Regions from separate parts of the Homo sapiens genome. Here all the other regions are linked to region 1. Evidence: promoter capture Hi-C in 16 types of primary human blood cells and fetal thymus (Javierre and others, 2016). All regions are on one chromosome and are shown on one strand. The core of a region is centred on a gene start or on the middle of the fragment in contact, and the rest is flanking DNA. Distances in the headings are between cores, read along the strand shown. Region 1 holds the start of C12orf50 (chromosome 12 open reading frame 50). Region 2 has its middle 47 kb from the start of LINC02458. Region 3 has its middle 75 kb from the start of LINC02458.

Evidence for each region. Contacts are between HindIII fragments. The CHiCAGO score rates a contact against its expected background, and 5 or more counts as called.
Region 2: a contact is called between a fragment that was not itself captured here and the fragment with the promoter of C12orf50 in region 1, in 4 of 17 cell types (M0 macrophages, M2 macrophages, M1 macrophages and 1 more). The highest score is 7.9, in M0 macrophages.
Region 3: a contact is called between a fragment that was not itself captured here and the fragment with the promoter of C12orf50 in region 1, in 1 of 17 cell types (M0 macrophages). The highest score is 6.3, in M0 macrophages.

What each region holds. Positions count from the first base shown.
Region 1 is chr12:88,028,008-88,031,343 of GRCh38, reverse strand. C12orf50 (chromosome 12 open reading frame 50) reads left to right here and starts at 1,943. Exons shown (of 13, transcript NM_152589.3): 1 at 1,943-2,004. The HindIII fragment of the contact is 7,634 bases long and covers 1-3,336 here.
Region 2 is chr12:88,971,388-88,974,723 of GRCh38, reverse strand. No RefSeq gene overlaps it. Among named protein-coding and RNA genes, the nearest start is that of LINC02458, 47 kb to the left of the region's middle. The HindIII fragment of the contact is 1,571 bases long and covers 734-2,304 here.
Region 3 is chr12:88,942,983-88,946,318 of GRCh38, reverse strand. No RefSeq gene overlaps it. Among named protein-coding and RNA genes, the nearest start is that of LINC02458, 75 kb to the left of the region's middle. The HindIII fragment of the contact is 2,971 bases long and covers 56-3,026 here.

The sequences.
Region 1 (3,336 bases), core at 694-3,193:
GTGCCATCTGTAGCCTAGGGACTTGGTGCCCTGTGTCTCAGCCAATCTAGCCATGACTGAAAGGGGCCAACATAGAGCTCGAGCTGTGGCTTCAGAGGGTGCAGGCCCCAAGCCTTGGCAGCTTCCACATTGCTGTTGAGCCTGCAGGAGCACAGAAGGCAAGAATTGAGGTTTGGAAACCTCCACTTAGATTTCAGAAGATGTATGGAAACACCTGGATGCTTAGGTAAAAGTTTGCTGCAGAAGTAAGGACCTCATGGAGAACCCCTGCTAGGGCAGTGTGGAAGGGAAATGTGGGCTGGAGCCCCCACACAGAGTCCCTCCTGGGGCACTGCCTAGTGGAGCTTTTAGAAGAGAGCCACCATCCTCCAAACCCCAGAATGGTAGCTCCACTGACAGCTTGTGCCATGCACCTGGAAAAGCCACAGACACTTAATGCCAGCCTGTGAAAGCAGCCAGGAGGGAGGCTGTACCCTGCAAAGCCACAGGGTCAGAGTGCCCAAGACCATGGGAACCCACCTTTTGCATCCACATGACCTGGATGTGAGACCTGGAGTCAAAGGACATCATTTTGGAGCTTTAAAATTTGACTGCCCTGCTGGAATTAGGACATGCAGGGGTCCTGTAACTCCTTTGTTTTGGCCAACTTATCCCACTTGCAGTGGCTTTGCCCAATACCAGTATCCCCATTGTATCTAGGAAGTAACTAGCTTGTTTTTGATTTTACAGACTCATAGGTGGAAGGGATTTGCCTTGTCTCAGATGAGACACTGGACTGTGGACTTTTGGATTAATACTGAAATGAGTTAAGACTTTGGGGGACTATTGGAAAGGCATGATTGGTTTTGAAATGTGAGGACATGAAGTTTGGAGGGACAAGTGGTGGAATGATATGGTTTGGCTCTGTCTCCACCCAAATATCAACTTGAATTGTATCTCCCAGAATTCCCACATGTTGTGGGAGGGATTCAGGGGGAGGTAATTGAATCATGGGTACGGGTTTTTCCCATGCTAATCTCATGATAGTGAATAAGTCTCATAAGATCTGATCAGTTTATCAGGGGATTCTACCTTTACTTTCTCCTCATTTTCTCTTGCCACCGCAGTGTAAGAAGTGCCTTTCACCTCCTGCCATGATTCTGAGGCCTCCCCAGCCATGTGGAACTGTAAGTCCAATTAAACCTCTTTTTCTTCCCAGTTGGGTATGCTTTTATCAGCAGCATGAAAACGGACTAATACATTTATGAGGAATATTTTTTATTAATTTCTGCTGGGTTTTAATTATTTGATTAAAGATACTAAGAGGAAGATATAAATAACTGCTGATTGAAATGTTTCATTCTGGAAATCAGAGTATTTCCCTTGTTTTCAACAAATTCTCAAAGCCTTCAAGCACTCTGGAAACTTTCTGCTATAGGAAGAAGATATTCCTCTTTTTATGATGGATGAAAAATAAATGGAATATAGCCACAAGATGAATAAGTAGCCCAATATATTTTCAGGTACCTATTAATATATCACAATTTGAATATGATTTTTCCCAAATCAATGGATAGTAGAGAGTACATATTTAAATAATTGTTTTTATTATCTTAGAATATGAGTAGCTCATTTACCTATGGCAAATTTTTAGTGTTATTCCCAAAACCTCTATAGAAACGAAGATTTAGAAATAGCTGTTTACTTGTGAAATACTTATCACTTTCTATTATAAAAGTATAAACTAGTTTATAGTCCATATTCAACGAGAACATTGAAAGATTAAAGTATGCTATTTTATTTTTGCTAGTCCTTTGTAGTTAATATGCTAAAACTGAGTAAGGGAAATACAGTGTTCACTCAGGTAAACTGTAGTTTACCTGAGTGAACATTGGCCTGCAGTTACATGTGAGGTCATTTATGATGAGCAAACAATGGATTAGGTAACAATGAGGAAAATTCTAGAAGTTTGAGTTTGTGTGCTTACTAGCAACCACTTTCAGCGTTTCTGCAAAGCTAGAGAAGGTATCTTCTAATTTAAATGTCTTTAAGAATTATCTATTGCGTAATATACTGTCAACAGGAGGTCAGTTTTAAAGGAATACTACTGATAGCCTGAAAGACTGTGGAAAAGAAATTATTTTTCCCCCTTACACACTGATAGTTCTTGTATTTGCATTCCTGAAATTCATATATATTTTTCAAAAAAAAAAAACCATTGGATTAGCAGCAAGAGAGTTGAAAATGGCAGAAGTTGGGAATGACTGCTATTTCTTTTTTAATTCCACATGCATAAAGGTAAATATTGTACAATTGACAGTACTTCACATGCTTAATCTTTTTAGTAGAATGAAGGGAGATATGGCAATAACTTGTATTGCTGAACAAAAATTTACTATTTTCTTGCAAGATATCTTATATTTGTAAAATCTGGAGTAACAGCTTATCATGTATTTTTGACATACTGAATTTCTCTGAAGAAATCTGAGATAATTTAAAATTATTATTTGTTTGAAACTACCCTTATATATACCAGTTATATGTCTATAGCTTTTGAATCTTCATGTGGCACTTTTGCCTATATTATGACACCTTGAGACATTAAATTCCTAATATTAAAACATCATAGGTTACAAGATATTGTTTTAGTTAATATGATTCCAGTCATTATAATTCAAATAGTTGAATTCAGGTAAGTGTCAATCTTAGTGTAATAAATCTGTTTTCCTATTTGAAATTTATTAACCCAATTACTGAATTTTCCTCTGTCAAAAGTCTAAGTAATAACAAATATTTAAATATCATTAAAAAAGAAAATTAATATAAACAAATTGGCCACATATAAATTAAACTTTATAAAGTTAAATGGGAAAAACTGAGAATTCCTCCAATGTATTAGGATGTATAGATCTTAGTAAAACCAGATAAAGGTAGAAACTCAATATTTGGAGCTTTGTGCTCATGCAAGAAATAATCCAGTGAAAAAGATGATATGTCTGGTTTCAAGTGTTTCCTCTCTGTTAGGAAACCTGAATGGAGTCAACCTCTCTGACCACAGAAATTGGATTCACTTCTATTACCTGTTAGATTAAATGCTAGGATAATAAAGAATAATAACAGATTTCATGTCCCAGGTGGGCAGAGTGTTTTGTCTATTTCACTGCTGTATCCCCAAGTACTTAGCAGAGTGGCTAATGAGTAAGTTACCAGTAAATAATTAAATGAATAAATAATAATAATAGCTCACAATACCTTATATCACATCATTTTTACAGCTAACCTGTAAGGAAAGTAGTTTTTATTTCCTGTATACAGATGAGAAAACTGAAGCACAGAGAGTATGAGTTAAGTATTAAC
Region 2 (3,336 bases), core at 270-2,769, 940 kb before region 1:
AGACAAATGAGTAGCTATGTGATGGCTTAATTCAGTTATCCCTGTGTCCTTGAGAGCCAGGTTTGTCATCCTCAAAATAGGAGAAAGGAGACACAGAAATAAGATAGAAGAGGTTAAGTAAAAATCCTGTAGTCTTGAATTTAAATTGGAAGATATAGTAGGGATTTTGATGTGATTTATCTTAAAAATAATTCCTAGCTTAGTCTAATGAAAAGGCCTAGAAACCATGGTTAACCAAAGAGTAATAAGCCCTCTAACACTCGGATTTTTATTCTGAAATACTATTTCCCACTAAAGCAAACCACAATTCCTGGGACAGGAAATGTACAAGATGAGTTTGAAATATTTTACCAAGGAGGCTATTAAACACTATTAAGGTAGTGTTAAAAAGATTCAGGAATCAACCTAAAGAAGATCCACTGGCAAAAGAGAAAACAATTCCAATTATACAAGAAAAACCATATATTCTATAGTTGTTTGAGCAGTGTTTTATATATAAGACTACGTAAACTCTTAGTCATCATTTTTACAATTTCTTTTTATCTGCTGATTTTTGTCTGATTATTCTTTCAGTAACTGGACCTGTATCCATATATTACAATAAATGCAACTTCATAAAAAGATGAAGCAATCTGATTATCAATAAAGATGTAAGCTGCAATGACTTTAATACTAAATACATTTAAATCAATGGGTTCATAATAATACTTATCCAAAAAAAAAAAAGAAAGCTTACCATCAACAAAATGTACTAGCTTCAGAATGCGGAGAACCAATTTATTCTTTTTAAAATTTAGAAGTTGGGAGAAGGATTAAGCATTTACCCTATGTTTCCTATGTTGTACCATTAAGTAACCAAATGGAAAGCAAGGGAAAGTTTCTCATTATAGAAATATTTTAAGAAATAAGTGAAGAAATGATAGAATTGCAATATTTTTCTCATTCTTCCCCAGCCCCAGTGATCCCCATTAGGGCTCAAGACCATGGCATCAATTACAGCTTATAAAATAAAAGAGAGACAACGTGACTTCTGATGGAACAGTGCATCATCTCTAAGGTAGCCTTGCAAAAAAAATATCAAATCTGAATCGGATCATGCCTTAGATTTAACAGTTGACAGAAAAAATAGAGAACATGGGAATCTCCTAATGACACCACAGGGATGCAATTAGAAAAATCCTGACTGAGGGAAATTTTAAAGATCTCAAAAGATCTAATGATTCAGTCTTTCTGACAAATAGGTATCAAGAGAATAAAATGAAAATGCCTATAAATTAAGATAGATTTATGGAACTTATTAATCACATTCGATGTGCTAAACTGGTAAATAAAGGGAAAGAATCAACCATTTATCTTGTGTTTCCTATTCAAACTGGGATAATCAAAATAGAATTTCTTCTCCGAGTCCCTGAGAATGGGGCACGTATTTAACCAAATCACAAACTACGTTTATTAACCACGTAACTTATTCATCACACTTTGTTATTCTCTGGGATTTGTAGTTTCACAAACCAGCACCTGCCTTCTGATTCTCTTTTCCAGCCTGTATTTTGGACACTGAACCAATCGCATGGAGATTTATTTTTTAGCTGGTGAATCTTTCATTATGTAAATGTTAATGTATTATTAATGATAATAATAATGCTAATAATAATGTGACTAATTTCTTAAGTCTTCCTTATGTGCAAGGAACTGTGTATTGTGTCATTTACTTGCCCAGTGATAGTAATGTAGGCATTTTAGGATTCCCATCTTACAGATGAGGGAACCAAGGCTTTAAAAATTTAATAAATTGCTTGTGAGCCCACAGCCAATATCAAGCTAGAAACGTGCACCTGAGAACATGATTCCCTGTCCAGGGCTGTTACTTTCACCAAGTACTTAATTTGACATAAATGTAAAGGAAGAGATTGCCTTTTTGGTTAAATGTTCTCTGACACTAGAAATACAGTTAAAGGCTCTTAAAAGGCTCTATAGCTTCTAAGATGAATAACATGAATTGAAAATACAATGAAAAGTGTACCCCTTTTGTAGCTGGGGGATTCTTGCCTTTGCATCTAGACTGGAGTTCTGCTTTAAATGGGTTGCCATTTCAGGATTGCTTTAGGGATCAATGATAGTAAAGAGGAATGTTTTAGTCTAATAATATTAACCTGAATATATAAAATGTGCTATCTAGGGACAAAATGTACTTTTGCATTAGAGAATGAGAAAGGAAAAAAAATTAAAAACTGGAGCAGAGAGGTAGAAAGGTGAAGAGGAAAATAGGTTATGGAAATGAGGAGTCAGATTGGGAAATAAGCTTGATGAATAATTAGTGAGAGGGCAATGGGGTAGGTGTAAGGCTGGGCTCACTTTGCAACCTGCGTGCTGCGTGGAACCTGGAAAACCACTACATACTGTATAAAGTTTCCTTTTTTTGTCTTTAATGACAACAAGTCAAACACTACTAATGTCTCATAGAGGCCTGGGAGGCTACTGCACAGATCAGGTAATGACATTTATCTTACACCTACTCAGCATACAACTTCTGGGTTTTGGCATTCAGTTAAGATTCACTTGGAACCATATGGATGATACTGGCAATTATGTCACACTCTATTCAGGATGCAGTAGAATTTAGCAATGTTGTATCAAGATCCTATCATGGACTGTGACTTACTATTCTCACAAAATGAGAATGGTTTGGAACCTTTGACCTCCAAGAGCCATTCTTGAATCTATGATCCAGCTAGCTCCAGGAAGATGACTGGAAAATAGATTCTTAGGTTGTGTTTCAAAATACCAAAATGTACTTTGGGCATGATTTTTATTTTTCTTTTAATAAGATTAAATATTAAATATTATATTTAATGTATTAAATACATAATAATAATAAGCTAATGATGAAAGTATTTTGAGCATGAAAAGCACCATCTCAGGTAGACTGTAAGGTATGAATAAGAATGCCCAAGGGTAGGCTGGGATGATTGATTCAAGACTCAAACAATTTTAATTTAAATCCTCCTTGACACAGGTTCACATAAATCAATGTCCCTGGGTCCTAACACTCTGTCTTACATTCCAGTACTTTCTGATATCTTTAGCTATTTATCTGACTTTGCTTAAAAATTCACAGCACAGAGATCAGAGGGTTACATTTCTCTTACCTATGTATACTACTCCTTTCCCAGTAATTCTGCATTTGTTAAAGGCTGATGTGCTTCTTAACACAAAGGGACTTGATTTATTCTGAGCCTTGAACTCTCCCTAAGGAAAAAAAGAATAATGAACAGCATTCTGAAATACTTTGATTAGTTGTGGATTAGATACTGGTTTGTGTAACTTGTTTATGAA
Region 3 (3,336 bases), core at 292-2,791, 920 kb before region 1:
CTGATTCTTCTATGTTCCTAAAGTGTGTGCCTTAATGATTCATTAATTACAAGCTTTTATCTGAACCAGTTATCTCATCATTAATTGGTATATACTTTGCCCAGCCAAATTAAGGCAACTGCTGTTTTATCCTGATTCCTTGGATGAAGACTGCATGGTGTGAACCCCGACAGTCTTCTTCCTCTTACTACTATTCAGCCTATACATTTGTCAGGCCAGGTCGTTAATAATGGTAGGCTTCTATCCTCTCAGCATAAAAGATGGTAATTGACCTCTAGGGAATATTTGAGGAAAAATAATTGTATCATGAGACTAAAAGGGAATTATGTCTACTTCTATTTGCTTTGTTCAGAGTAGGTGCTCAACAAATATTTGACATTTGTATGATATTGCTCTCATTTTACTATCAAATTGGAAAATGGTGAGGACTAGCGTGAAAAAAAAAAACAAAAATCTGGGGAAGTTAGTATTTATTTCCTGTTTTTGGACAGAAAGACTTCAATTCATTTGGTATCATTTCAACAACTCAGACCAAGGTAGATGTCTTTGTCCAGAAAGAACACTACCTGTTAGTTCAATTTGGTTCAAAAGTATTGAGTATCTATCAAATGCCATGATAAGCACTGTGGTATCATGTAGAAGTAGAAAGATGTGCCAGGAGTAGAAAGATGATCCATTGAGGATTCCATAGTCTTAAGTAGAGTCAGGCATTAAAATATACCAGGTGTGTTTCTAGAAGTGCTTCCTAGAGTTGCTGAGGCCATAGCTTGACCTTGAGCATGAAGAAAAATTAGCCAGGCAAAAATAGCTTTGGCCATGTGTGTGGTTTGGCCTACTTTTGGACAATATTGAGTTACCAGTGCTTAAGAGTGAAGATTGATTTTTACTTTTAAGTGCTCCATTTTGACAGCTTTCTTGAGCATGCAGATCCAAGAGACAAAGGAGGACGTTAAAGAGAAGTATGCTTACCGACCACTAAACTCATTCTGTTGCAAGGCAGATTTTGTATTATCCCAGTGGAAGAATGCCCATGGTTTAGCACTAACTTTAAGGTCCGACCTGGACCTTATCCCACATGCTTTCTTGGCATTCAGACTTCAGTAGCCTATATCAGGAGTTGGCAAACTTCCTCTATAAACCAGATAGTAAGTAGATTTTGCAGGCTGGAATGACTCTGTTGCAAGTACTCAACACTGCTGTTGTAGTTTGAAAACAGCTAGCTCTCAATATGTAAATGAATTGTGCATGACTTTTTCTGGTAAAACTTTATAAAAACAGAAAGAGTGCTGGATTTGGTTTCTGGGCCATAGTTTGCTGATACTATAGCATTCAATAAATATATCTGGCTATTATCTGAGGTCAAAAAGCATTTCAAAGTAAATGTCAGAACTTCAAATATTAGATATTAAAACCAAGATTCTAAACTATTTTCAAATTCTTCTTATTCAGTTTCCACTTTACATAAAACTACTATGCTAGAGAATGGTGATGAAAAGAAATGAAACTTGGTGGTTTGTCTAAGGACCTTACAATCTCTTAGAAAAGCATATGTTTTATACATAAGGAGATACAGGCCCTCAGAAGTGACTTGCTTTTTGTTAGATAGTAGCCAAACCAGAACTCAATATCATACCTCTGTGAGTTCAGGCCTCTTTCTTCTACCTCAGCACTTTGTTTCATGAGTGAAGATTCTTGGGTCAGAACGGAGTTTATGAAGAAAAGAAGATGTATGATTATTCCAGGTTCTCACACCCTTGAATCTGTGCTTCAGCCACCTGCTAGAAATAACTTAAACAAAGAGGTGGGAGCTGTTTTCTGAACAATGCTCAGTCATGCTGTGACTCATACCAACTTCCCTTGTTGCCTCGAGTTTACAGTTCATCGTATATTTACTTGTATATAGCTGTCTATCTGCCCTCAAAATGAATTTTGTTGTCATTTGGCAAAAGAATCTCATTGTTTCCTCAGATCTTCATAATACTCACAGATAGGAAAACAAAGACTTACCATTGCTAAGGCTGAGGAAATAATTGGGAACATTATTCTATGGTACTTTGATTTGAATTCAAATAATGTAATGCAACTGCCATATCCAAGGTCTTTTTGCAGTCTCCTTCTTATTGCTCTCTCTGCGGCATGTAGTAGGGCTGTTTGCCACTCTATTTTGGGGGGATATTTTTTTGAAACAGTGTCTCGCTCTGTCACCCAGGCTGGAGCGTAGCGGTACAACCACAGCTGACTGCAGCCTTCATCTCCCAGGTTCAATCGATCCTCCCACCTAGGCCTCCTGAGTAGATGAGACTATAGGTGCACACCACCATATCTGGCTAATTTTTGTATTTTTTATAGAGATGGGGTTTTGCCGTGTTGCCCAGGCTGGTCTCAAACTCTTGACCTCAAGTGGTCTGCCTGCCTTGGAATCCCAAAATGTCTTTTTGGGAAATTCTCTTAAGTTCCATGACACAGAACTCTCTTCTCCTGAAATGAAGACATTTCCCAAAGAACAGTCCTGAACCCTCTCTATTCTGAGTTCTTTATCATCTTTCAGCCCTTATCTATTCTCAGGGCTTTAACTCTTACCTTTGCTAATTGAAGATGGAGGAAAAGAGGAGAGAGATAACGTTTATTTGGTACTTAAAATGTGTTGAGAATCTAGAGATAGAAAACACAGCTCCTTCCTTTAAGGATTCACAATGTTGAGGGAACTACTTGAGAGAGACAGAGAGAGAGAGAGAGGATATTGACTCTACAGCTCATAGATGCTAGTAGAGGTGTGTGCACAGGGCACGGGGGCAAAAGGTGAACACCTCTCAGAGCCTCAGGTGTGGAGCAATGGCATGAAGGCTCTCCCGAAGAGGGGTAGTTGTGCTGAATATAGAAATCTGAATAACTTATCAGGATGTAGAGGGATAAGTTTGACTCCCAAGACTGGATTTGCTGCTCTTCAGTATTCACAGACCATGGCAACTTTGATACTAGTTTATGACTGCACATCTTCCTATGGCCTTCCTCCCTAGATCAAAGCTTCTGGAAGGCATCATTGTTCCTCATTGCATTTCTAGCCCCTAAGCTGTGTCTGGCACCTGATAGGGGCTCAGTCATATTTACTGAGGGAGAGAAATGATTATTCCTACTTTATCACCATGAAAATGAGTCTCAGCAATGGAAGACACATTTATTTATGACCATAGAGCTAGTATTGGGAGATGCAGACATTCAAACATTGGCCTAGATGAGTCCTTTGTCTTTTGGTGTCAGTTTACCTAGTTAGGCATCTCAGGTCCTACCTTCACTCCTGAGCTTCGGTCTCATATTGCTAATTCCCTTTTAGACATT